5 separate regions of the Homo sapiens genome follow, and regions 1, 3, 4 and 5 are each linked to region 2. Evidence: promoter capture Hi-C in human tissues and cell types (Jung and others, 2019). All regions are on one chromosome and are shown on one strand. Each heading gives the region's core, a stretch centred on a gene start or on the middle of the fragment in contact. The rest is flanking DNA. Distances are from core to core; before and after follow the strand shown.

The links. Contacts are between HindIII fragments. The study calls those that stand out against the background at their distance.
Region 1: a contact is called between a fragment that was not itself captured here and the fragment with the promoter of L1TD1 in region 2, in 1 of the 25 tissues and cell types used here (aorta).
Region 3: a fragment that was not itself captured here is called in contact with the fragment with the promoter of L1TD1 in region 2 in 1 of the 25 tissues and cell types used here (liver).
Region 4: a fragment that was not itself captured here is called in contact with the fragment with the promoter of L1TD1 in region 2 in 4 of the 25 tissues and cell types used here (dorsolateral prefrontal cortex, mesendoderm cells, pancreas and 1 more).
Region 5: a fragment that was not itself captured here is called in contact with the fragment with the promoter of L1TD1 in region 2 in 1 of the 25 tissues and cell types used here (bladder).

Annotation. Positions count from the first base shown.
Region 1 is chr1:62,440,468-62,443,167 of GRCh38, reverse strand. It overlaps USP1 (ubiquitin specific peptidase 1), which reads right to left. Exons shown (of 9, transcript NM_003368.5): 3 at 1,560-1,680; 4 at 869-973; 5 at 1-9. Among named protein-coding and RNA genes, the nearest start is that of USP1, 4.8 kb to the right of the region's middle. The HindIII fragment of the contact is 4,518 bases long and covers 1-2,700 here.
Region 2 is chr1:62,193,328-62,196,098 of GRCh38, reverse strand. L1TD1 (LINE1 type transposase domain containing 1) reads right to left here and starts at 1,250. Exons shown (of 4, transcript NM_019079.5): 1 at 1,178-1,250. RefSeq lists enhancers at 395-1,250, 1,251-2,107. The HindIII fragment of the contact is 18,338 bases long and covers 1-2,771 here.
Region 3 is chr1:62,374,191-62,376,890 of GRCh38, reverse strand. No RefSeq gene overlaps it. Among named protein-coding and RNA genes, the nearest start is that of KANK4, 56 kb to the right of the region's middle. The HindIII fragment of the contact is 3,050 bases long and covers 1-2,700 here.
Region 4 is chr1:62,353,471-62,356,170 of GRCh38, reverse strand. No RefSeq gene overlaps it. Among named protein-coding and RNA genes, the nearest start is that of KANK4, 35 kb to the right of the region's middle. The HindIII fragment of the contact is 4,856 bases long and covers 1-2,700 here.
Region 5 is chr1:62,420,829-62,423,677 of GRCh38, reverse strand. No RefSeq gene overlaps it. Among named protein-coding and RNA genes, the nearest start is that of USP1, 15 kb to the left of the region's middle. The HindIII fragment of the contact is 9,030 bases long and covers 1-2,849 here.

The DNA of each region.
Region 1 (2,700 bases), core at 150-2,649, 250 kb before region 2:
GCAATTTCCCTGTCAAGAAAGAAACACACAAACCAATAATTTTATGAACAAATTAAGTACCTTCCCCCTTTGTCTTTGTCTCACTTAAGAATACTAGATTTTCTAAGTTGCATAATAGCACTAATTTTAAGGGATGTACAAATAAGCCTTATTTTTTATTTTTTTATTTTGAGACAGGGTCTCTGTCGCCCAGGCTGGAGTGCAGTGGCTTGATCGCGGCTCACTGGAGCCTCAACCTCCTGGGCTCAAGCAATCCTCCACCTCAGCCTCCCAATTAGCTGGAACTACAGGCTCACACCATGACGCCCTACTAGTTTTTGTATTTTTAGTAAAGACAGGGTCTTGCCATGTTACCCAGGCTGGTCTCAAACTCTTGCGCTCAAGCAATCCACCACCCACCTTGACCTCCCAAACTGCTGGGATTACAGGCATGAGCCACCACGTCTGGTCTTTTTTGTAATTTTAAGAGGAATTATGAATTACTATTTATGTGAATTACAATGGTTTTTTAATTATGGAAGTTAAAGATTTCTTTAAATACACTGTATTTAAATTTTAACTCAATTTGAAAACACAATGGGTAAATAAGTTGTACATGGGTATAACATATTGTGATTATAGTATACAGTAATATATAGTATACAAGTAACAAAAGTTTGATACACAGATTACAGGAGCAAACATTGTAAAAGGGAATTATCTAGTTAGCCACCTTGAAAGAATGAAAAATAATTGCCTGACAATAGCTCGCTAACAGAGAAATAATCTTTGTCATCCACCCCCCCAGTCCTCTTCATTTCCAGGCAAGTAAATTTCCATTAATTTACTTTTGCTTTTTACATTATTTTCTGTTCTTTATTTTTCTTACCTTGTCTTTTTGATTGGCTTCATCCTTTAGAGCTTCTTTCTTCCTTGAAATAATATTAAATAAGTGCTTTACTCCAGATTTAAAACCGGGACAAAAATATAATACCTATAAAAAGTGAGATTGTCTTAAGTGTTTACTGAACAAACAATACACGTAAAATCATTAAAACAACATCATGCTTTCTATAGAGCACTTTTAACATGTATTACCCTAAAATTCTGAGATTAAGTTTTGTGTCAAAATTTGTTCTCCACTTCATCAGTAGTAGCCCAGTGTCTTCCCTCATTAGCACAAAGCACTGCACCTGGGCAGATATTGCTAAGACTTTAAGGTTACAAGGACACACAACACAGCGCCAACGGACACACAACACAATGCCAACGTTACTTCCAAGGGATAAGACATATATCACACTGTAGCACCAGGAATCAGAGAAAGAAATTAAAGGTTTGACCTTCCACTTAAGGTCTACTCAATTTTGCTATCCCACCTTTATTTAGTCTATCATTTTCTCTTACCCCAAAGGAAGTTTAATAACATGTAACTTATTATTTTAGCCTATTCTGGTTTATTAACAATCAAAGGCAAAGACAGTATGGACATTAAAGTCCTCCAATAACTCAAAAACATTAAATGCTACATCAATCTTTGCCTACTAAAGCTTTATGATATAGCAAAATTGTCAATTTACCTGAAGTATACTATTAAGATAGCAAGTATTGCCGAGATTATTCAGTCCCACAAATGGTAACAAGTTTTCTCTCTTCTCACAGTTTATAGGTGAAGACTGTGCTGCAGGAACAACTTGATCACTATGAAATATAGAAGGGAGAACGATAAGTAGTTATCTTAAAGAAACAAGGTGAAAATATTACTTCTGTAGATTTAGTCTTTTCCCAAAAGTTGTATAATCTGAAAAGTATGTGAATCTTGTTCAGATGACATTTTAAGAAATACAGGCTCAAAAATTGCTATATGCCCAGAATAAAAGTTTTAAAAGCATTTAAAAACATTATTACACATAACAAGCCACAGAACAATTCCCTTAAAAGGATGTTAATCCTATTTTACAGAGTAGAAAATTGAGGAACTGAGAGACTATGATTTGTTTCATCTACTTTGACATTTTAATCAAATAGTTTAACTGAACAGAAACCTGGGAATAAACTAACCATGACAATATTTGGGAGAGGCTGCACTAAGTAAGATTCTATTAATAAGAATTCAGAGGAAAGAAAGTCTGTGAAGAGAATTATATATGACTTCCTGCTGGTAAAAAAAAAAAAAATATGTAGCTATCCCTCACTTAAAAATAAAATGTTCAGAATGTGGGTGTGGGGGCATTGACATGTAATTCCAGCTACTTGGGAGGACTGCTCGAGCCCAGGAATTCAAGACCAGCCTGGGCAACACAAGGAGACCCCATCTCAAAACACAAATGCTTTAAGTTTACTATTCTTTTACTTCTTTAACAACAACAACAAAAAAACCACTAGGTCCTTCCAATATTTTCATTTATTTTACGATTGCTAGCTATTATTACTCTAGCACCTCAAAGTATTCAGAAGTATGAATGCTGATAAACAAAAGCTTCACTCTCACAAATCTCCTCAACTGGTTATTGATAGCTATTAGGAAATTAACACATGGGACCAAATCCACCTTAGTCACCCAGCAGAGTGCCTATATGTTAAACAGGGAGTAGTACAGACTCCAGCTAGAGCTGCTGGTGGTGGAATAAAGTATTCCACTTTGTTCTGATTTATTTTCTGTAGCTAAATAATTTATTTGCATCAAAAGCATTACTTAAAGTTTATTTTTATAATTTGCAA
Region 2 (2,771 bases), core at 1-2,500:
AAAAGTTATTACTTCCAAATCAATTTTTCCAGTCACATAATTAAACACTTTTTTTTTTTTTTGAGACGGAGTTTCGCTCTGCCGCCCAGGCTGGAGTGTAGTGGCCCGATCTCGGCTCACTGCAACCTCCGCCTCCCCGGTTCAAGCGATTCTCCTGCCTCGGCCTCCCTAGTAGCTGGGACTACAGGCGCGAGCCAACACACCCGGCTAATTTTGTATTTTTGGTAGAGACGGGGTTTCCCAAGTTGGCCAGGATGGTCTCGATCTCCTGACCTCGTGATCCGCCCCCGCCTCGGCCTCCCAAAGTGCTGGAAAATAACACGCCCGGCCCTCCATCTTTTTTTATTTGAGACAGTTTCGCCCCTGTTGCCCAGTCTGGAGCGCAATGGCGCGATCTCGTCTCAGTGCAACCTCTGCCTCTCGGGTTCAAGCGATTCTCCTGCCTCAGCCTCCTGAGTAGCTAGGATTACAGGCATGCGCCACCACGCCTGGCTAATTTTGTATTTTTAGTAGAGACGAGGTTTCTCCATGTTGGTCAGGATGGTCTCGAACTCCGACCTCAGGTGATCCGCCCGCCTCGGCTTCCCAAAGTGCTGGGATTACAGGCGTGAGCCACTGCTCCCGGCCCCTCCATCCTTTTTCTAAAGCTAGGACTTGTCAAGCACCACCTCATTTTCTTGACTTTATTTTTTCTTCACAGAACTACTTTCATGTTTCCAATTTGGGGATAGATAAGTCTTAGGAGAGTTTTTTTCTCATTGCGCCACGGACAGTAAGGGAAAGAGCAGGGAGTCAAGTGAGGGGGCCAACTGCCTGCCCCTACCCGGGCCCCACGCACGCACCCGGATCAGCCTTGCCTGGGGCACCTCGGGCCTCACGTACCTGGGCCAGCCTTACCCGGGGCACCCCGCGCCCTTCGCGCCTGGACCAGCCTTATCCGGGGCACCCTGGACCTCACGCTCCTGGACCAGCCTTACTTGGGGCGCTGCGGACCCCACGCGCCTAGACCAGCCTTACCCGGGGCACCCCGGACCCCACGCCCCTGGACCAGCCTTACCCGGGGCACCCCGGACCCCACGCGCCTGGCCCAGCCTTACCCGGCGCGCCCCGGACCCCACGCGCCTGGGCCAGCCTTACCCAGGGCACGCCGGGCCCCATGCACCCGGGCCAGCCTTACCTGGCGAAAAAGGAATCCGCCTGGACGACTGAGGAGCGAACAAAGTGAGGATGGAGCCTTGTAACTAAGGACTGAGAGGATTCCCGATCTCTGGGGCTGGCTCCTCCCCTCCTGGTGTGTCCCAACCCCCTCTGTCTACATACCCGCGCCTCCTCCCCGGAAATCGCATTCCGCCCTAAGCAATTGCTGACTTCCATTGCTGCCCCCCGACTGAGTCCAATTCCCTCTGTCTCCACCGTGCCTCCGCTTGAACGAGCCCCACCCCTCAGACCCGACTCCAGACTCAAATCTGAATAAAGGCACCACTAAAGCGCCTCATCACCCAGGCCTGAACCCCAAGGTCACCTCATTCCTTTTCTTCAACCCTCGCAGTTAATCCATTCCTAAGTCCTTGAATTTGCCGGCGTCTCTCCAACTCCACAGCTCCAGCCCAGTCCAAGCCCCCGTTGTCTCTCACCTGGATCACTGAAATCACCTCCAACTGCTCCCTGGCCTCTCCCACGACCCCTCTGTAATCCTTCTCCCCCTCCAATACTGTTCAGTGGCTTCCTGTTTCGGTTAAATTTCTACCTTCTCATTCTATCCGGACTGCCCCTTCAACATTGTCTTAGCACTACTCTTACAACAGAAACACTCTCTTTCTGTTCCTCAAAAAACACGGAACTACCTGCCTCAGGGCCCTTGCACTGGCTGTTTCCTCTGCGAGTTATTTTTTTCTTTTTCTTTCTTTCTTTCTTTCTTTTTTTTTTTTTTTGAGACAGTCTCTGTTGCCACAGCTGGAGTGCAGTGGCATGATCTTGGCTCACTGCAACCCCGGCCTCCTGGGTTCAAGCAATTCTCCTGCCTTAGCCTCCCAAGTAGCTGGGATTACAGGAGCACGCCACCACTCCCGGAAAATTTTTGTATTTTTTTTTTTTCTTTTTGAGACAGAGTTTTCTTATGTCACCCAGGCTGGAGTGCAGTGGCGCAATCTCGGCTCACTGCAACCTCTGCCTCCTGGATTCAAGCGATTTCTCCTGCCTCAGCCTCCTGAGTAGCTGAGATTACAGGCCCATGCCACCACGCCTGGCTAGTTTTTGTATTTTTAGTAGAGGGGGGTTTCACCATGTTGGTCAGGCTGGTCTTGAACTTCTGACCTGGTGATCCGCCCACCTCAGCTTCCCAAAGTGATGGGATTACAGGCGTGCGCCACCACGCCTGGCCACCTCTTTATTTTCCCAGTTCTTTCAGGATGGCTTCTGTTCATCCTCAGGTCTCAGGTCCAATGTTAACTCCTCTAACAGGCCTCCCAGACTACCCTTTCTACAGGAGCCAAACTCCCCATATCCCAATACTCTTTTTTTGTTTTATTTTTGTTTCTTAAGAGAGGGTCTTGCTCTCTAACAGAGACTCAAAGGTTCTGGGTGGTTGGACTCCCCAGGCCTGACTTGCAAGGCTCAGGTGGAACTTGACTTGCCCAAAGTCATGCAGCTAATAAGCAAAGAAGCCTCAATATCTGGTAGTTCAGTCAATACACAGCATATGAATAAACAAAGAGAATTCGGTCTTTTGCTTTTAATCCCTTATTTCTTCTTACTGCCTAAAATCCCAGCAC
Region 3 (2,700 bases), core at 2-2,501, 180 kb before region 2:
TGTAACAAACTCTCTTTTGTTTGAATTTCAAAAGTCACCCCACAACATGGCCCAAAGTTCCTTAGATGTGTATCTCTGTAATGAACAGGAGGTTTGAAAAAGTGCCCTGCTTCTGCAGCAGACTTTAACGCTTTTCAAGATGGAAAGTTTTTTAGCTTTCAAAAGAACAACCACCACCGTTTCCCTCTTTAATGCTCATCCCTCCAACAGAAACACACAGTGAAAGAAGGAATCAGTTGGGTGGACTCTTAATGGCTTCCTGGGGTTGTAGTGTCATTGTGAGACAGAGAGGACCTTCAGAAAAAAAAAAAGGTGAGATCGAGTTCATATTTTCATAAGGAAGGAATATAATAATGTTTGCCCATATGCAAGACTTTGTGAAGTGTATATGTTGCTGCAGAAATGAATCACATAATCACTACACTTACATAATTATTTGTGCAATAGTTGATTTCCCCACTAGATTATAAACTTCATGTGGACAAGGCTAAATTTTTTCTAGTTCACCTCTACATCCCTAGACTCTAGCACTTAGATGCCAAAAATATACATTGAATAAACACTATTGAGGTCCCAAAGAGTGATTTAAAAAAAAAAAAAAGCTAAGGCTCACATTTAAAATATAGATATTATGGTAGGAAAGAAAATGCACTATTTTTGTAAATAATTTTTTATTTTGAAATAATTTCAAACTTAGAAAAAAGTTTTAAAAGTTATACCAAGAACTACTGGATACTCTTTGTTCGAATTCCCCAAAGTTTAACATTTGCCACATTTGCTTTTATATGTATGAGAGTAAGTTGCAGGCATATGCTCTTTTACTCCTCAATATTTCAGTATGTAATTCCTAAGAACAAAGACCTTCTCTTACATAACCACCAAACAGATGTCAAAATCAGGAGATTAATAGCAAGGCAATATTATTATCTAATCCATAGACCTCATTCAACATTTGCTAGTTACCTTAATAATATCTACACAGTAATAGAAAAATAATTTTTAAATATTACATGTTGATTAAATGCAACATGTAATCCTGGATTAGATATTTTAAAATTATTTAAAATATTATTTAAAATTATTGCTCTTAATCAGCATGTAATCTCTTTAGTCTTCTTCAATCCGTAATGGTTCTTCAGTCTTTCTTAGTCCTCCATGACCTTGACATTTTTGAAAAGTAGAGGCCAATTATTTTGTAGGATGTCTTTCAATTCAGGTATATTTGATGTTCCTTTGTGATTAAGTTCAGATTTTGTGTCTTTGGCAGGATTACCAGGAAAGTGATGCTGTGTGTTTTGCATTGCACCATATCAAGAGTCACGTATGGGCTGGGTGCAGTGGCTCACGCCTGTAATCCCAGAAATTTGGGAGACTAAGGTGGGTGAATGGCTTGAGTTCAGGAGTTTGAGACTAGCCTGGGCAACACGGTGAAACCCTGTCTCTACAAAAAAATACAAAAGTTAGCCAGGTGTGGTGGCACGCACCTGTAGTCCCAGCTACTCAGAAGGCTACGGTGGAAGAATCATCTGATCCCAGGAGGTGGAGGCTGCAGTAAGCTGTGATTGAACCACCCCTGTCTCAAAAAAAAAAAAAAAAAAAAAAGTCACATATGTTAGTCTGTTCCATTGCTGGTGATACTAACCTGGATCACTGGGACAAGCTGGTGTCTCCCAGATTTCTCCACTGTAAAGCTACAATTTTCTTCTTTATAATTAGTAAGTATTTTGTGAGGAAATACTTTGAGATCATGCAAATATCCTGTTCCTTATCAAATTTTCACCCATAACTTTCGCATCCATTGATAATTCTTGCTTAAATTATTACTATGATACTTGCCAGTTAGTGAATGTCTACTCTATCATTCATTCTGCATTTCTTAGTTGGCATTCCCTTCTAGGAAAGCTGTTCTCTTTTTCTCCTATTTACTTGTTAATGTATTTCTTTATATTAGCATGAACTTGAATGATTATTTCAGTCATTGGAATTATAATCTGTTAATATCATTACTTATTTGATATACATATTCTCCCAGATTAGGCTGGCCCTCAGGCTCTTTTGACACGTGCTGTTGTTTTTGAGCATTCCCTTTCTCCCTGAGATAAGAAGGTGATCCAGGCTGAAACTCAATCTTCTCTGCACAGTCCTGGAATCAGCCATTCTCTCAGGAGCCCTAGCTCCTTTTAGTGGAGAATGGTCTCAAATTTACTTTTAAAATAAAAAACGAAGACAAAATAGATAATACAAAACTATTCAGCAAATACAATAGATATTAAACAAAAATCTACTCTGACCTATGCCATTGTCAGTTACACAAGAGGGACACAAAGCTTGATTCATTAAGATAGTCTATTATAGGTTAGATATATAGAAATATATAAATGAAGCAGAATAGGCCAGGCATGGTGGCTCACACCTGTAATCCCAGCACTTTGGGAGGCCGAGGCAGTAGGATCACTTGAGCGCAGGAGTTCAAGACCAGCCTGAGCAACATATCAAGACCTCATCTCTATTTAAAAAAAAAAGTTAAGTGAAATAGAATGGAGCTACTATAAATTCATCTTGGCATAGCATATGTCAGACCTCAGAATTATTTTTTTGTTGTTGTTGAGACAGAGTTTTGCTCTTGTTGCCCAGGCTGGATTGCAATGGTGTGATCTTGGCTCACTGTAACCTCTGCCTCCCGGGTTCAAGTTATTCTCC
Region 4 (2,700 bases), core at 82-2,581, 160 kb before region 2:
GGGATTACAGGCACACCAGTACCATACCCGGCTACTTTTTGTATTTTTAGTAAAGACGAGGTTTTGCCATGTTGGCCAGGCTGGTCTCAAACTCCTGACCTCAGATGATCTCCCTGCCTCGGCCTCCCAAAGTGCTGGGATTACAGGCGTGAGCCACTTCGCCTGGCCCTTATTTCCTATATTTGTAAAACGGGGATAATAATGGCAATCGTCTCATAGGATTTTTGTGAGGATTAAACTATGTGAGTAATTAGCTCAATGCCAGGCACATAGTAAGTCATCAGAAATGTTTGATGGTCATGATGTTGATCTCATTTAACTCTCACAACAACTCTATCTAAGTGATATAGTTTGGATATGTGTCCCCGCCCAAATCTCATATCGAAATGTAATCCCTGATGTTGGAGGTGGGGCCTGGTGAGAGGTGATTGGATAATGGGGGCAGGTTTCACATGAATGTTTTAGTACCATCCCCTGGGTGTGGTCCTTGTGATAGTGAGTGAGTTCTTGTGAGATCTGATAGCACCTTCCCTGTGGCTCTGTCTTGCTCTTGCTTTCACCATGTGATATGCCTGCTACCCCTTTACCTTCCCCCGTTATTGGAAGCTTCTTGAGGCCTCCCCAATAGCAGATGCTGCTATGCCTCCTGTACAGCCTGAAGAACTGTCAGCCAATTAATCCTCTTTTCTTATGAATTACCCAGTCTCAGGTATTTATTTATAGCAATGTGAGAATGGACTAATACAGTAAAACATGAGGTTTCAGCACTGTTCCTGCAACATCACCTGGCCCCAGTCACACAAGTCATAAGATTAGGATCCAGCACTGGCTCATCAGTCCACCTCGGGGGCATACTTCTATGTCCCTGGAAGCTGGCCAGCTCCAGTGTCCAGCCACTTCTCATTCTGTCCTCATCTGCTCTCTGGATTGCTCATTCACTTACTCAACCAAATTCATGTAAAAGAGCTGTCTGGGCCGGGCGCGGTGACTCCACGTCTATAATCCCAGCACTTTGGGAGGCCGAGGCGGGAGGATCACCTGAAGTCGTGAGTTTGAGACCAGTCTGACCAACATGGAGAAGCCCCGTCTCTACTAAAAGTGTAAAATTAGCCGGGCGTGGTGGCACATGCCTGTAATCCCAGTTACTCAGGAGGTTGAGGCAGGAGAATCGCTTGACCCTGGGAGGCAGAGGTTGCAGTGAGCCAAGATCACGCCATTGCACTCCAGCCTGGGAAACAAGAGTGAAACTCCGTCTCAAAAAAAAAAAAAAAAAAAAAAAAGCCATTTGAGGATTACTCAGAGCTACAGCCACTAACGCTGGTCCCTCAGTCAGAGACTGGTCCTGCTCTCATGCCTGAAAGGAAGGCCAGGAATCTGACCTTTACTCTTGGGATCTACCTGATTTCCTCTGGCACCAGACTCACCGCTTGGTCTGCCAAAACCAAAAGTTTTGTTTTTTTTTTAACGATGATTATTATTTTTTAGTATAATTGAGATGGGGTCTTGCTATGTTGCCCAGGCTAGGCTTGAACTCCTGGTCTCAAGATATCTTTCCATCTCCACCTCCCAAAGTGCTGGGATTACAGGCGTAAGCCACAGCATCAGGCCCAAACCATTTATTTAAACCTGAAAAAAGGTAATTGGTGTACAAGGTAAAAATACCCAGAAGTTGCAAAAGGATATAGAGAGATGTCTCCTTCTCAGCCTACCCTCTGGACTCCCATTTCCTCTCCCCAGAGGCAACCATGGAGACCAGTTTCCTCAAAGTGGATTCTGAATCAATTCCTTGTTTCTTTCTCTAGCTGCGCCATCCTGGGGCTGTATTTTTGCAGCATGCACCCTCAGTGCCCTGTGGCCACGCTCCCTGCTCCGCCACCAGCAAAACCCATCCAAAATCCTCCCCTCCCTCCTTCCTGCCTCCTAATCCTGTGCATCCTGCTATTTCTCTTCAAGCCACCTTCTCCAGGAAGAATTTTTTTTTTTTTTTTTTTTTTAGCAATTCCAGCTGTTTGTCATCCCTCGTCTTCCTGACAACATAACTTACTATTTCTGTCACATATTCGGACATTTTGTCTTATCCACTGCAACAGGTGCTAGTTTGTAACTGCTCAGTGTGGGCCACCCTGCAGTCCCCAATTATCCTGGAGTTGCTTGTCCATCCCCATGGCCCCCATTACTGCCTACACCCTGAGGACTCTCAACTCCACTCTCCTCAGCTTCAGATCTGTATTTCCAGCTGAAACTGGGCATCTTCCCAGTTGTCCTGTGAGAATGTCCAAAATGGAATTCGTCCTTTTGGCCCTTAACTTAGTACTTCCTGAGTCCCCTCTCTTAAGGAATGGCATCAACATCTATTTTGTCATCCAAACTTGAAACTTCACTCAGGAGGATGTGTGCACGGGAAAATGGGGGACAGTGTTCACAAACCCTGTTATCAGAAACGGCTCTCGGCTCCATCCCTTTCCCCCCCATTCCACCATCTCTGCCCTTGCCACAGTCTTTTGCCTGATTTAGGGAAAGTGTTTTCCCTCCCTACAGCCTCTCTTCCCTCCAATTCATTGTCTCTTCACCTGGCACTGTCATCTTTCTAAAGGACAGTTGTGATCCTTCCACTTTCCTGCTTGAAAACTTTTCAGGGCTCCCCGCTTGCCTGCTGGCCCCTCCAGAGTCACCTCGTGTACTCCTCCTGTCACTCCCATT
Region 5 (2,849 bases), core at 86-2,585, 230 kb before region 2:
TTTTTGCAGAAATGGGGTTTCACCATGTTACTTAAGCTGGTCTTGAACTCCTGAGCTCAGTGACCTACTATTTATATAGAATTTTATGAAATTTGGTCTAAATATTCTCTTAACTATAGTTTTTGCATACAAATATGTACCTCCTAGTGTTGTTTTTATCTTTTACCAAAGCAATTCAGTGTTGCACTCTAATTTATTTCCTTTAAGTCTTTGAATAAATTTATGTATTTACTTCACCTACAGCCCCAAAGCCAAATTAAGAAACTTTTAAAGCAATTTACTATTAAAATATGATAAAATTTATATTAAAATTAAGAATTATCATAGAAAAAAAATCACAGTTTAAAAACTACCCAGTAAAATTAAGCAAAATGCTATATATTTTTTTTGAGACAGAGTCTCGCTCTTGTTCCCCAGGCTGGAGTGCAATGGTGCAATCTCGGCTCACTGCAACCTCCACATCCCAGCTTCAAGCGATTCTCCTGCCTGAGCCTCCTGAGCAGCTGGGACTACAGGCGCCCACCACCATGCCCAGCTAATTTTTGTGTCTTTAGTAGAGACGGGCTTCCACCGTGTTGGCCAGGCTGGTCTCGAACTCCTGACCTCAGGTGATCCGCCTGCCTCGGCCTCCCAAAATACTGGGATTACAGGCGTGAGCCACCGCACCCAGCTGCCTTGTATGTTTATATTTTAACATTTCATCTGTGATTCAGAACCAATTTATAAGAGAGTGGTATGTGAATTGCATTTCAAATGTAATCCCATGTGTACATGTAATTCCTTACATTTAAACATTATTCAATTAGCCACTAAATATTTTAGCTACTTTAGGAAAAATATCTGAATCTTTTCAAGGAATACAATAAACCATGTTTGTATTCCCAATTTTATGTTTTGTAGGTCTACATCTTCCCTGATGATGTGAACCATAAAATCACATTTAAAATATTAACGTTCACTTTTATTTTTTTATTTTTTTGAGACAGAGTCTCGCTCTGTCGCCCAGGCTGGAGTGCAGTGACACGATCTTGGCTCACTGCAACCTCCGCCTCCCAGGTTCAAGCAATTCTCCTGCCTCAGCCTCCCGAGTAGCTGGGACTACAGGCTTGTGCCACCACACCCAGCTAATTTTTATATTTTTATTAGAGACAGGGTTTCTCCATATTGGCCAGACCAGTCTCGAACTCCTGACCTCGTGATCCACCCTCCTCGGCTTCCCAAAGTGCTGGGATTACAGGCATGAGCCACTGCACCCAGCCTAAAGTTCATTTTTAAAACTTAATTTTACCAGCCGGGCAGGGAGGCTCACACCTGTAATCCCAGCACTTTGGGAGGCCGAGGTGGGCGGATCACAAGGTCAGGAGTTTGAGACCGGCCTGGCCAATATGGTGAAACCCCATCTCTACTAAAAATACAAAAATTAGCCAGGCATGGTGGTGCGCGCCTGTAGTCCCAGCTACTCTGGAGGCTGAGGCAGGAGGATCGCCTGAACCTGGGAGGCAGAGGTTGCAGTGAGCCGAGATTATGCCACTGCACTCCAGCCTGGGCGACAGAAAGAGGCTCCATCTCAAAAAAAGAAGAAGAAAGAAAAGCTTAATTTTACCAATATATTTTCTTTTTAACTTATTAGCATTAATGCTAACAATCTCCACAATAAGAAATGTTAATTTTCCTACATTTGTTATAGCATATATTTTATTTTATTTTACTTTATTATTATTATTTTTTTTAGAGACAGGGTCTCATTCTGTCATCCAGGCTGGAGTGCAGTGGTACCATTATAGCTCACTAACTTCAAACTCCTAAGTTGAAGCACTCCTTCCACCTCAGCCCCCTAAGTAGCTAGGACTACAAGTGTCCACCACAACACCAGGCTAATTTATTTATTTTTTTGTAGAAATGGGGTCTTGCTATGTTGCCCAGGCTCATATCAAGCTCCCAGCCCCAAATGATCCTCCACCTTCGTCTCCCAAAGCAGTGGGATTACAGGTGTGAGCCCCTGCACTCAGCCATATATTTTATTACCTTTGAATTTAAACACAATATACAAATTCTAAGACTTGGAATTATAAAATTTGCATCAAAGACAAAAACAGAACCTATATATGATTTTTCTCTTTCTATCATAAAAGGAAAAGGAGTGGCATCGCTCCCTATGCTCAATTCAGAAACTGGTCTTTGGGTATCAAGATTCAAATTCACACCTTTTTTTCCCCACTGAAGAGTTAGGCATGGAGAAACTGTGTATGTGTTATCATATATGTAGGTATGTGTGTGGACAGGACCATGTAAAAGCATCTTATTATTACACTGTAATATAATTTTTCTGTCTGTATGCTTTCACTTTTTTTTGGAGCAGGTAAGTTAATTTTTTTCTTCTGTAAGAGTATGCTGAGTATGCTGGATAAATAATTAGTTAAAACAATTTAACTCATAATAATATCTTCGCTTTATTGATTTATCACAATACCAATAAAAGTTATATATTTAGGTCTGCATGTAAAACATGATTATCAGTATTTATTCTTTCAAACAGATGTTTTACAATAATTTGGTTTCATACCTTTTATCAATGGAAGATTTATGTCTTCATAAGGATTTTATTTGGCTGCTTGGAAGGAACCTTCTCACCAATCACTTTTTGAGATCTTGAGACATCCAAATACCTCTCAAAAACTCAATTAGTTTGTGAAACATTTGCACAAATTACATGGCTTTTAGGTCATGCTCTTTCAATTCTTTGTCTTTAAAAACGAAAAACATATTAACTCATGTTAAAAGTTACTCATATGGGCTGGGCGCAGTGGCACACACCTGTAATCCCAGCATTTTGGGAGGCCCAGGTGGGT